Linked DNA regions of Homo sapiens: all the other regions are linked to region 1. The links are contacts of gene promoters, found by promoter capture Hi-C in blood cells and fetal thymus (Javierre and others, 2016). All regions are on one chromosome and are shown on one strand. Each heading gives the region's core, a stretch centred on a gene start or on the middle of the fragment in contact. The rest is flanking DNA. Distances are from core to core; before and after follow the strand shown. Region 1 holds the start of DIO3OS (DIO3 opposite strand upstream RNA). Region 2 overlaps WDR25 (WD repeat domain 25). Region 3 overlaps WDR25 (WD repeat domain 25).

Region 1 (3,884 bases), core at 964-3,463:
TTGTAAGAGGGCAGGCAGAAAGGGAGGTGGGGGAGGCCCAGCCAGGCTGGGGGACAGGAGAAGCAGCCCCAGTTCTAACTCTGCTTCCCCCACAGCAGAGCCTGCCAGGCCCCCGAGGGCCGGGACCTCTGGGTGATGCCTGGCACTCCCCTAAGTCACAGGTGGAGCTGGGCCTTTGGCCAGTACTCTCCCTCCTGACCACTGGGATGGGACAAGACAGTAGGGGCAACAGGTAGGAAGGGCCAGGTCTAAGGTGAGCTGGGGGTGCAGCCCTAGAGAGAGGTAGGAAGGAGGGACAGGGGTTGCTCTGGAGGAGAGAGGGTTGCTCCAGAGGCAGAGGGAAAAGACAACTGGAGTGGGAGTCAGTGAGCCAGGTTCTGTGTTCCAAAGGCCAGCATTGCCTGGACCTTGGGTCTGTCCTCACCTGCATAAGAGGCTGCAGGAGCCAAATGGGCCTTCCAGCCTTGTCCAATATTATGGAGTCCCGAGGTGTGGAGTGTATTCTGTGGGCCCAAGAAACAGCAACAGATCCCCAGAACAGATGACAGCCCTAAAGAAAGGCTGCTTTCCTGAGCATCCCTGGGGCTAGAAAGAGTGTGGATCAGGTGCTTCCTATTGGGCTGGGCCTGCAGAGGGGACAAGAGGGGCCAGTCTTACAGCCACCCAGACCATACTTTCCACACACATGCACATGCGCACACACACTTGCACACACACACACACACTTGCACACATATGCATGCACATGCCACCAGATCTCAGCCAGCACAGAAAGGCTCTCCCAGCCTTAGGTGGCTTATGCATTTTCTGAAACTAACTGTGGGAAAAGGGCTTGGGGAACCATCCCATGTGCCTGCACCAAATGCTGTGTGGGTGGGGCAGGACACAAGCCCTACACTGACACCTCCCAGAAATCAGGGAATCAGAGCTTGAGAGATTGTCCAGTAAAAGTTGGAACCCTCAACACCCCTTGACTCTGCCCAGGAGGAGCAACCTCAGAAGCCCCCCCAAACCTCCTCTCAGAGACCTGCCGAGTAGGAGGCTTCTCTCTCTACTCTCCTCCCCGCAAAAAAGAGGCCAGAAAAGAGGATGATTGGCTAACTCAGAGGTGCCCTGATGGAGGGGAGCAAACAAGGGGACTTCCAAGGAGAATTCCCTAGCCCACCTGAAAGACCCCTACCCAGAGTGGTGAGGGGCAGCTTAGGAGCACTGACGCAAGGGGGAGAGACCAGGCTGGCTTCCCTCTACGTAGTAAGTTCCTGGGGTGTGCGCCCCTGCCCCAGACAGCAGAGAAATCGCCTGACTGGGAGATGGAGAAGAGGGGCCACCTTCTCATGCCACCCCGCCGCCAATCCTCCAGGCACACTCGGGCGCTTGACCTGCTGAAGCCTGTAGCCTCAGGTCCAGTGAGGAGCTCACGGGACAGAGGGCCCTACCAGAGCCACGAAAACCGGAGGGGGGGACCTCCGCCCAAGGCAGGCGTCTCTGCGCGCCCGCTGGGGCCCTGGTCCTGCAGTTGGCTTCTCCCGACACGTTCCTTCGCTGCCGAAAGCGATTCGCCCGCGCTCTACCGAGCCCAGCCAGCTCCTACCTCGGCCCGGGCGGCGAGCGCTGTCTCCGTCCCGAGAAGAAGTTTCGCGGCTGGTCCCGGGGCGGCAGGCGCACGGGACGCTGGCGGCGGCGGCGGCTTCCGACTTGGGCTCAGACCCCGCCGCTCCAGACAAGTCCCCGCGACTGCGACAGTGTCTCGGGCAGTTCAGCTCCCCAGACGGGAGACAGACCCTCGCGACCTGGTTCAGGCCTTGCCCTGGGGGACACTGCAGTCCAAGGCGAAAGGAGACTTGCTCCCGGCCTCTGGGTCCCTAGGTCAAGGCACCTCCCCGCCCCGCCGCCCCTGAGCCCAAGTCGCCAACCCCGCGCCGCGCGCAGCGAGGGATCAGAAGGTCTCGGACGCCGCGGCAGGGCCGGCCAGGGCCCCACGAGTTAGGGAGTTGCCCCGCACCCCTAAACGCTCAGCACCCATTTACGGTTGAAAGTACGCACTTGACGCGTCCGGGCGCCTCCGCGGTGAGTCGCGCCGCCGCTCTCGGGGTCCGCGAAGGTGGCTCAGTTCGGGCGCTCCAGTCTCGACGTTCCCGGGGTAGAGAGCAACGTCCGGGGACGAACGGGACGGGTGCGCCCAGCGGCCGGGGCTGCGCTGGGCGAGGCAAGCGGCGAGAGGGGAGCGCTCCGGCGTTCAGGCAACAGCTACCCCTAGTGGGAGAGCCGCCCGGGGCCGGCGCCGCCCCGCGCCCGCTGCCCCGCGCCCCACGCCCGTGGCGCCCCGCGCCCGGGTCGGCTGGGGGCGCAGGGCCGGCGCCGCTTTCCCCAGCTCTCCGGTCTCCGGCGCCCGGCGGTAACCCGCCCGCGGGCTCTGCCCTCCGCACCTCTCAGCCCGGCCCCGGCGGCCGCTGACCCAGGAACCGCGGCGCCCCGCTGGAACGAGATGGGACGGGGCGGGCGCGGCCAGGGCGGCGCGGGCTGGGGCGGCGCGCGGCAGCCTCGGGCAGCGGCGGGGGGCGCGGAGCGCGGTGTGCGTGGCGGGGCGGTGCGGGGGGCGGCCGTGTGCGAGGCGCGAGTGTGAGCGCGCGCGGGAGGCGGGCGGGCGGGCTCCGGCAGGCGAGCGGCGCCCGCGGGCGAGCCAGGAAGGCGGCGGGAACGCAAAGTTGCCTCCTCGCTGGCCCGCGTCCTCGGTGGGGCGGGAGCCGGGGCCACCGAAGCGGCGGCCGCGGACCCGGCCTCCCGCGGCACCTGGGCAGCGGCCCCGCACGAGCGGCAGCGGCGTGGGCGGCGTTGGCGGCGGCGCGCGGGAAGCGAACCGGAGCTCCGGCGCGGCTCGGCGGCCGCCGGGGAGCTCGGCTCAGGTGCGCGGCGAGGGGGGCGCGGGCCGGAGCCAGGCGGCGGGGACCAGGGCGGCGCGCAGCGCTCGCGCCAGCTGGAGGACCTCCCCAGCGGACGCCCAGGTCCCTGGTCGGGCTCCCGGTCCCCAGCGGCAGCGGCTGCCGGAGTCCCCCGCCCCCGAGAGCTGGCTGCGGGGCCCGGGCCCGCCCCCACCGGCCCCAGGCCCGGCCGCTCCGCCCTCCGCCCGCCTGCGCCCGCCCTCAGCCCAAGATTTCTAGGGCATTGGCCGCGCTGCTGGGTGATCCCTCCGGGCTCAAGTTGCAAGGGGGCGGGCCGGGCCGGAGGTGGAGTCTCCCGCCAATTGAAGCCTCCGCTATAAATTGAACTCCCTGCACTGCTGAAGCCCAGATGCCTCGCCAGGCCACGTCGCGGTTGGTGGTCGGAGAGGGCGAGGGGTCCCAGGGGGCTTCGGGGCCTGCAGCCACCATGCTCCGCTCCCTGCTGCTTCACTCCTTGAGGCTCTGCGCCCAGACCGCCTCGTGCCTCGTGCTCTTCCCGCGCTTCCTCGGCACGGCCTTCATGCTCTGGCTTCTCGATTTCTTGTGTATCCGCAAGCATTTCCTGGGCCGCCGCCGCCGGGGGCAGCCCGAGCCCGAAGTGGAGCTCAACAGTGAAGGCGAGGAGGTGCCTCCCGATGACCCGCCCATCTGCGTGTCCGACGACAACCGCCTGTGCACCCTGGCGTCGCTCAAGGCGGTGTGGCATGGCCAGAAGTTGGATTTCTTCAAGCAGGCGCACGAGGGCGGTCCGGCGCCCAACTCCGAGGTGGTTCTGCCCGACGGCTTCCAGAGCCAGCACATCCTCGACTACGCGCAAGGGAACCGCCCGCTGGTTCTCAATTTCGGCAGCTGCACCTGACCACCGTTCATGGCGCGCATGAGCGCCTTCCAGCGCCTGGTCACTAAGTACCAGCGCGACGTCGACTTCCTCATCATCTACATCGA
Region 2 (3,884 bases), core at 619-3,118, 1.1 Mb before region 1:
TGTAGCATGCTGAAAGAGACCTTGCAAATAACTCCATCAAGTTCACTAGCCTACAAAAAATCCATCTTCTCACCTTTCTTCCCCTTTTAAAAAATGTTGATGTAATTTCAGGCTTACGGAAGAGTTGCAAGAACAGTATCAAGAATCCCCAGACACCCTTCACCCAGTTTCTCCAAATGTTAACATCATTTTATAACCCATTCCACATATATAAGCATGCATATATACATATTTTTTGGTACCATGTAAGAGTAAGACTGATAGTCCTTTACTCCCAAATATTTCAGTGTGTGTTTCCTAAAACAAGAAATTCTCTTATATAGTCACAGTGTAATCATCAACATCAGGAAAATAACATTGAAGCACTAGTCATGTGTTGCTTAACAATGGAGATATGTTCTGAGAAATGCGTTGTTAGACAGTGTTGTGGTGGGAACACCATATAGTGTACCTACATGAACCTAGATGGTACAGCCTACTACACACCCAGGCTATATGGTATAACCCATTGCTCCTAGGCTACACAGCTGTACAGCATGTGGCTGTGCTGAATACTGTAGGCAATTGGAACACAATGGGGCATTTGTGTATCTACACATATCTGAACTTAGAAGAGGTACAGTAAAAATACAGTCTAATCTTATGGGACCACTGCCGTGCATGTGGATCGTCATTGACTGAAATGTTGTTATGCAGCACATGACTGTATTATCTACTGTACATACCTTATTGATATTTTGTCAACTGTCCCAAAAATATCCTTTATAGCAAAAGAGAATTCATGGTCATGTGTTCCCTTCATCATTCTATCTCTTTAGTCTCCGTTAGTTTGAAACAGTTCCTCAGTTTCACAACACTCACATTTAGAGTACAAGCCAGTTATTTTATAGACCTTCAATGTAGGTCTGTCTAGTCTTTCCTTGTGATTAGGTTCAGGTGATGCCCTTTGGCAGGAGTGTTCCGGGTGATGCTGTGTTTCTCAGTGCTTCCTACCAGGAGGCACATGTTGGTTAGTCCTGTTGCTGGCAGTGTTAACTTTGATCACTTGGCTAAGATGCCAGGTTTCTTCAGTGTAGTTAATATTTTGCCTTTTGCAATTAAAAAATATAATATGGAGAGGCACTTTGAGACAACATAAGTATCCTGTTATTCCTCAACCTCTCATCAACTCGTTTTAGCATCCATCCATGATTCTTACCTGAGTCAGTCCCTATGATCACGCTTGTCACGTGGGGATTTCTCATCCTAACTAGAAAGAAGAGTTTTCATTCCCCCCCCATTAGTCTGTTTATTTTGTATCCATGTGGACTCATGGACTCCTAGTTTCTTAGTTTAACAGTAAGTTATAATAATACATTTTTATCATTTGATAAGAGAAATCTCTTCACGCTAGCTGCTGTCTCCATATTCTTTGAACATGACTTGACTTTTTGGCACAGCAAGATATTCTGGGCTCACTTATTCTTTTCCTGCCCCAGTCCTAGAATCAGCCATCTCCAAGGAGCTCTGGTTCCTTTTAGTGGAGAAAGGCATTTAGAAACCAAGATTTTGGCCAGGCATAGTGGCTCATGCCTGTAATCCCAGTGTTTTGGGAGGCTGAGGCAGGGGGGTCACGTGAGGCCGGGAGTTTGAGACCAGCCTGGGCAACATAGTGAAAAGCCGTTTCTACAAAAAAAAAAGAAAAGAAAAAAAAACCAGAGAGAGAAACCAAGATTTGGGATTTGGGTATTAGATGTGCTCATTGCTTCATTGCTACTGGGGGTCACTGCTTCTCAGAAGACAGATCTTGGCGATAGATGTCTGCCTATACATGCACACATGCCTCTATTCAGTTATTTCCAGGAGAACCTGTGAGTTTACACTGATGTCTCTAATCCTGATCTAGTGCTGTGGGGTTCATTCTGCCCTTTTCCATTTCCATATTTGTCACTCCCCCCTCCAACAGTGAAACCTGGCTTCCTGGTTTTCACAATGTATTTATGTATTTGCTCAATTCTAGAATGTCAGAAAGTAGTTTCAAAATTGCTAACTTCTGCAAAAAGAGGTCTAGTGATCAGAATTCAGTATTAGAGCTCTTTTCGACTTCAGACTGAGAGCATATAGTCCACATTTCAGGTGTTTCTTGGGTTTGTTCCCTGCTGCCCCCTTTCAGTGTGGTTATGTTATTCATTTGAAATACAATTTGGTTCCTTTGTTTCTCTTTGTATTCTATTTGAGAGATTTCCCCAATCTTAGGGATTTTCTCTTCCCTCCCTTTTGTGTGAACCACGGACATTTCCAAAAGGCAGGTCTGTACAAAAAGTTCTATTCAGAGAGGTGCTCCCCCTCCTTTCCACTCCAATCCCTTTTTCCTCTCTACCCAGCTCCCACCCTGCCCTGTAGGGAACCAGTCTCATTAGTCTGTGTTTTTTCCTTCTATGTTTCTTTTTGCTTTAATGAGTAGTTTCTTATTCCGCTCTTTTTCTTCATAAAAAGTAGAATATTCTGAATCCTCTTTCACAGTTTGCCGTTTCTCATTTAACTGTGCGCCTGAGCAGGCTACATTAGTCCTGAGGGGTCCCTGATCCTTCCTTCTGCTCCTGAGGGGTCTGTTGTGGTCTCCATTTTGGCTGTTATGTAGGTGCATGAGAACTGTGCAGTGTGCGTCTAGGTGCTAATGACAGCACAGCCCCCACCAGGCGTTGTGTCTTTTCCACCTGACTCTGGAAGAGTGGTAATGTGGGCAGAGGAGGAAACTGAGGCTCAAAGTAGTCCCATGACCACACGTCACACAGATGTGAGCTGGTCCTAGAGGTTGAGGCCAGACTGTCTGGTGCCAGAACTGAAACTTGTGAATGACGGGTGTACTTGCTCCTCCTGCTGGGGTTCATTGCATGCCTGAGATGCCAAGAGCAGGGCTCGCATCACCCTGGGTGCTAAGGAAAAAGGCCCCAGGGAGGGAAGGATAACCCAGGAGAAAGGAGGAGCTATTCCCCTTATAATTGCTTTCCTTATCATTCTTTTAAAATTTGTTGTGTGTACATGTTTTGTAATGAGTATAACACATCAATAGAATAGGGTTTATGTACTCAAAGTTGTGTGCTCAGAAAAATTTTTAAAAATGATAGTGATATGTGATCAAAAAAGTTTGGAGATCACGGAAAGAGAAGCTCACTCAGCTGTCTTGAAGTGGAGAGAGCCCTGGCCTGGCCTTAACATCCAGAGATGAGGGCTTGTGATCCCACCTGCTCCTGCTATGGGGGCAACAAGACATTCATTCACTCAATCATTCGTTCATTCATTCATTCATTCATTCAGTATGGCTGAGCGGTGAGGTTAACACAGTGAGCAGGAAGGTGCTGTCCTGACTTCAGAGAGCATCTGCAAGTCCAGATGGGGATCTTCATGGCTGGAAGGACAGTGAGGCCTGTCAGGGAAGGACACAGTGCTGTGGATCACCTAGGAGGGGCTTGTAAGTGAGGTTTGGGGGTTAGATGTGACTTCCAGGGAGAAGAGTGACGCCTAAGTGTGTATGAGAGTCCTCTGGTGTGAGGCTTGGAGAGGAGGGAGTGTAGCTGCTGGCCAGCACCGTGGAAGAGTTGACTCTGAGCAAATCATTAATCTTTTTGGGCCTTAATTGTCTTCTCTGTAATGGGGAAGGATAGTACCACTGGCCTCTCCAGCAAGTTCTTTGCATCTGCTGAGGCCAGATTCAGGTGTCAAATTCTCAGCTCTGCTGTTGACTAGCCATGTGTCTTTGGGATGTGTTATGTCTGGAGCTTTGCTAACAAAGCTTTCTCACCTTATCTCATTGAGTCCTCCCATCCAGCATTTTCCATATGAGTGCTTTGAGTTTCAGAGAAGTGAAGCGCTTATGGAGGGTCCCACAAGCAGTGGGAGCCGGG
Region 3 (3,884 bases), core at 790-3,289, 1.1 Mb before region 1:
GATAAGAGGCACCAAAAAAAAACATTAGCTCTAATGTCGTTCTTAACTGTGTAAGACTGACCACCTTCCCAGTGAGATCAGGAATAGGCAAGGGTGTCACGGAGAGTTATTTAGCATTCTACTGGAGATTGCCAGTGTGATAAGACAAGACAAGAAAAGGATCCAGATTGGAAAGGAGGAAGTAAAACTGCCTTTATGTGCAGATAACATGATCATCTATATGCAATTCCAGGCTGCGCACAGTGGCTCATGCTGTAATCCAGCCTTTGGGAAGCTGTAGCTGGAGGATCATTTGAGGCCAGGAGTTTGAGACCAGCTTGGGCAACATAGTGAGACCCCAGCTCTACAAAAATAAAAATAAAAACATTTAGAAGGGTGATGTGTGCCTGCAGTCCCAGCTCCTCGGAAGGCTGAGGTGGGAGGATTGCTTGAGCCCAGGAGTTCAAAGTTTTACAGTGAACTGTGATCGCACCACTTCACTCCAGCCTGGGTAACAGAGCGAGACCCTGACTTGGAAAGAAAAGAAAAGAAAAGAAAATTCCACTCTGTCTATTTTAAAAAGCTTCTAGTACTAAAAAGTGAGTTTAGTAAGGTTGCAGAATCCAAGGTCAATATCCAAAATTAATTGTATTTCTACATACGAGAAATCAACAATCTGAAAATAAAAGTTAAAAATACCATTTATATTATCAAACTATGAAATAATTAGAGATAAATTTGACAAAAGACATTCAAGATCTTTTCATTTAAAAAACCACAAACTGTTCCTTAGGGAAATTAAAGAAGACCTAAATAAATGGAGAGAGACATCCTGTTCATGGATTGGGAGACTCAATATTATTAAGGTGTTTCCCCAGATATTTTAGAATCAGTGCAACTCCAGCTGTAGAACACAAACATCATGAAGGGCTTCTCAAAGATTTGGCAAATGGGCTGATCCCATCCGTTTGGTAAAGGGTTAGGCACTGGTTGCACAGGCTTGTGCTGAACTGTGTGAGTTTGAGAATGGTCTCTAAAATTATTTTCTGGGGCAACAGGGACTGTCAAGAGGTGGGATGAGGCCAGGAGCCAGGCCTGACTAGGAGGGTCTCCGAGATAAGAGTGAGTAGGATAGGGCCACGAGGGAGGCGAAGGCTTACCCAGAAGTTTGACAGCCAGGTGATGGGGTTATGGATGACTCTTATTTTCGTTGTATTTTTCTGTTTTTTTTTGTTTGTTTTGTTTGTTTTTTTTTTTGGGCAGAGCACACATATTTCCAATGAAATCAGAGAAACAACAATCCTATAGCTGTTTCCTTTGGGATTTTGTTTTTGCACTTCTGTATAGTTTGAATAATTTACAAGAAGACTGTATTTTTTGTAACCAAAAACGAAAGGCAGGCAGGCAGAAAGAACATGACCTGTGGCTAGATCAATACTTGTTCAATCTTTGGAGACTGTGAGGAACTCCTGGTGGGGCCATGTCTTGGTAACGAGGACACAGAAACTGTGGTAAATATGGCACCGACAAGTGACTGCACCATATTTTACTTGTCATATTCTTTTCAAATCTGTTACTTTTGTCGGACACAAAGAATGTCTCTAGTTAATACATGAAATCATCTTGGAACATTTGACAGAAGATTTAACTCCTTAATTCTATGAAGGCAGTTTGGGATCTCTAATTACTTAATTGAAAAAAGCACGCACTTCAGTCTGCTGCAATGTTGGGGAATTAATCTTTAAAACCTGACAGTGAACATTAAATTCAATTAAGGAGACCAATTGGCAAAGATTCTTCCCTCCTTCACCCTGGATAGCTTTGAGAGGTAGCTGACTGGTCTGCATTGATTCAGATGCTGTCGTTGTCTGTGCATCTACTAGGAGAGCCAAGTGTGCGTTTTTCACTTCAGGGGGAGCTTGTCAGACGATTTACAGATTGATGGATCTCCTTACATGTTTCCGTGGCTGATTTGGGAGTTCCCCTGGACAAGAATTCAAACATTCCAGTTTGCTGCTTTTGGCCTTGGACTTCATAGAGTTCAAGTTTTTTGTAATTTCTTCTTTCTTGCATGAGACCACTATGTTGCCCAAGCTGGTTCTTCCTCCTCCCTCCGTCCTCTCCTCCTCTCCATCCTCTCTTCCCCTCCCTTCTCTTCTCTTCTTCCCCCTTCCTCTCTGCACCCCCCTTCCTTTTTCCCTTCTCTTTCCCTCTCCCCGCTTCCTCTCCCCCGCTCCTTCCTTTTTCCCTTCTCCCCTTCTCTTCTCTCCCCCTTCCTCTCCCCCTTGCTCCTTCCTTTTTCCCTTCTCCCCTTCTCTTCTCTCCCCCTTCCTCTCCCCCTTGCTCCTTCCTTTTTCCCTTCTCTTCTTCTTTCACCCCTTCCTCTCCCCCTGCTCCTTCCTTCCTTTTTCCCTTCTCTTTTCCTCCCTTTCCGTTTCCCATCCTGTGTTTCTTTTTTCTCTCCTCTCCCCAATTCCTCCATCACTCCTTCTCTCCCTTCCTTTTTTCTTCTGCTCCTCCTCCTCTCCGTCTTGGTTAATTTAACTTTTTATTTTAAATATGAAATGTTTTAAACATACTCAAAATTATAGAAGGTAACAGATACCTATACACCTGTCACTGAGATTGTCAAATCCCCAGGTGTGTCTGTTCTCATTCTCAGCGGACCCACCCATCAGCATTTGACATGGTGACCAGCCTCTTTGTCAAAACACTCTCTTCTCTACGCTTCCAGGACTTTCCTCTTCTGTTTTTTTCCCACACTTCACTGGCCTCTTCTTAGACTCCTTTCTGGTTTCTCTCTCTCCTCCCCTGGTTCCCAGCCTGTGAAACTTGGAGGCCTGGGGCTGAGATGTGGGACTCCTCTCTGTCCTGTCTGCACTTGCTCCCTAGGAGAGCTCATCCAGCTCAAGGCTGCGGCACAATTTCCACAATGGCATCCACAGCTCAGCCTCTACCCTGGGCCTCTCTTTTGAACATCACACTGGTACGGGAATGAGTCTTTATACTGTCTGCTGTCTGTCATTCAAAACTGAGCTCCAGGTCCTCCTTCCCTCAAACTTACCCCTTCTGCAGGCTGACCCATCCCTGCAACTCCACCCCTTTCAGTGCTTGGGCCAGGAACTGCGAATGTGTCCTGGGCTTTTCCCTTGCCCTCATATCCTACCTCCAGTCCAGGGAAGTCCTGTTGGTTCTACCCTCCAAGGCAGGCCACTTCTCTACTGCCTCCCACTGTTCCAAGCCATTTCCTCTCTCCCTGGATTCTTGCAGAAGCCTCCTGATTGTCTTCCTTCATCTCTCTTGCCCTTCATTCTCCTCCCTGCATGGCAGCTGGAGTGGTCCTACTGCAGTGGAACCAGCCCTCATTCCCCTCCGTTCCACCTGCAGAACCCTGGGATGCCCCAACGGCTTGTGGTTTTCCGACTTCATCCCTTTCTTACCACCTCCCTGCCAACCCCCAGCCTTGCTCACTTCTCTAGCTGCAGTGGCCCTTCTTGCTGTTGCTTGACCATGCCAGGCATACTCCTGTCACTGCCTGGAAGCTTCTTCCCTCAATTTCTACATAGCTGGCTTTCTCACCCCTTCAGGACTTCCTCCAAAGTCACCTCCTCAGAGAGGTCCTCCCTGGCCACCATTTCAGCCCCTTCCCTTGACCTTATAGAGCCCTTTCCTGGTTACTTTTTAATACTTCAGTCTTCACCACTGCCTTAAGGACTGTGGATTTTTATTTGTTCAGTGTCTGTCTCCCTCACTAGAATATAAACTCTTTGAAGGCAGAGATTTTTGTCTTATTTGTTTCCTGTTACACAATGCCTGGCTAATAGCAGGTCCTCAGGAAATCTTTGTTGAATGAATGAATAAATGAATGAGTTTCAGAGGAAACATTTGGGCATGTTTTCTTCGGA

Evidence for each region. Contacts are between HindIII fragments. The CHiCAGO score rates a contact against its expected background, and 5 or more counts as called.
Region 2: a contact is called between a fragment that was not itself captured here and the fragment with the promoter of DIO3OS in region 1, in 1 of 17 cell types (endothelial precursors). The highest score is 5.9, in endothelial precursors.
Region 3: a fragment that was not itself captured here is called in contact with the fragment with the promoter of DIO3OS in region 1 in 1 of 17 cell types (total B cells); the score reaches 6.5 in total B cells.

The regions. Positions count from the first base shown.
Region 1 is chr14:101,558,209-101,562,092 of GRCh38, forward strand. It overlaps DIO3OS (DIO3 opposite strand upstream RNA), which reads right to left and starts at 2,214. Exons shown (of 2, transcript NR_152588.1): 1 at 2,044-2,214. It overlaps DIO3 (iodothyronine deiodinase 3), which reads left to right and starts at 3,287. Exons shown (of 1, transcript NM_001362.4): 1 at 3,287-3,884. The coding sequence starts at 3,289. It overlaps MIR1247 (microRNA 1247), which reads right to left and starts at 2,214; the gene lies at 2,079-2,214. The HindIII fragment of the contact is 17,616 bases long and covers 1-3,884 here.
Region 2 is chr14:100,432,394-100,436,277 of GRCh38, forward strand. The region is part of intron 2 of WDR25 (WD repeat domain 25); the gene reads left to right. Among named protein-coding and RNA genes, the nearest start is that of WDR25, 58 kb to the left of the region's middle. The HindIII fragment of the contact is 3,804 bases long and covers 1-3,770 here.
Region 3 is chr14:100,460,703-100,464,586 of GRCh38, forward strand. The region is part of intron 2 of WDR25 (WD repeat domain 25); the gene reads left to right. Among named protein-coding and RNA genes, the nearest start is that of WDR25, 86 kb to the left of the region's middle. The HindIII fragment of the contact is 2,959 bases long and covers 561-3,519 here.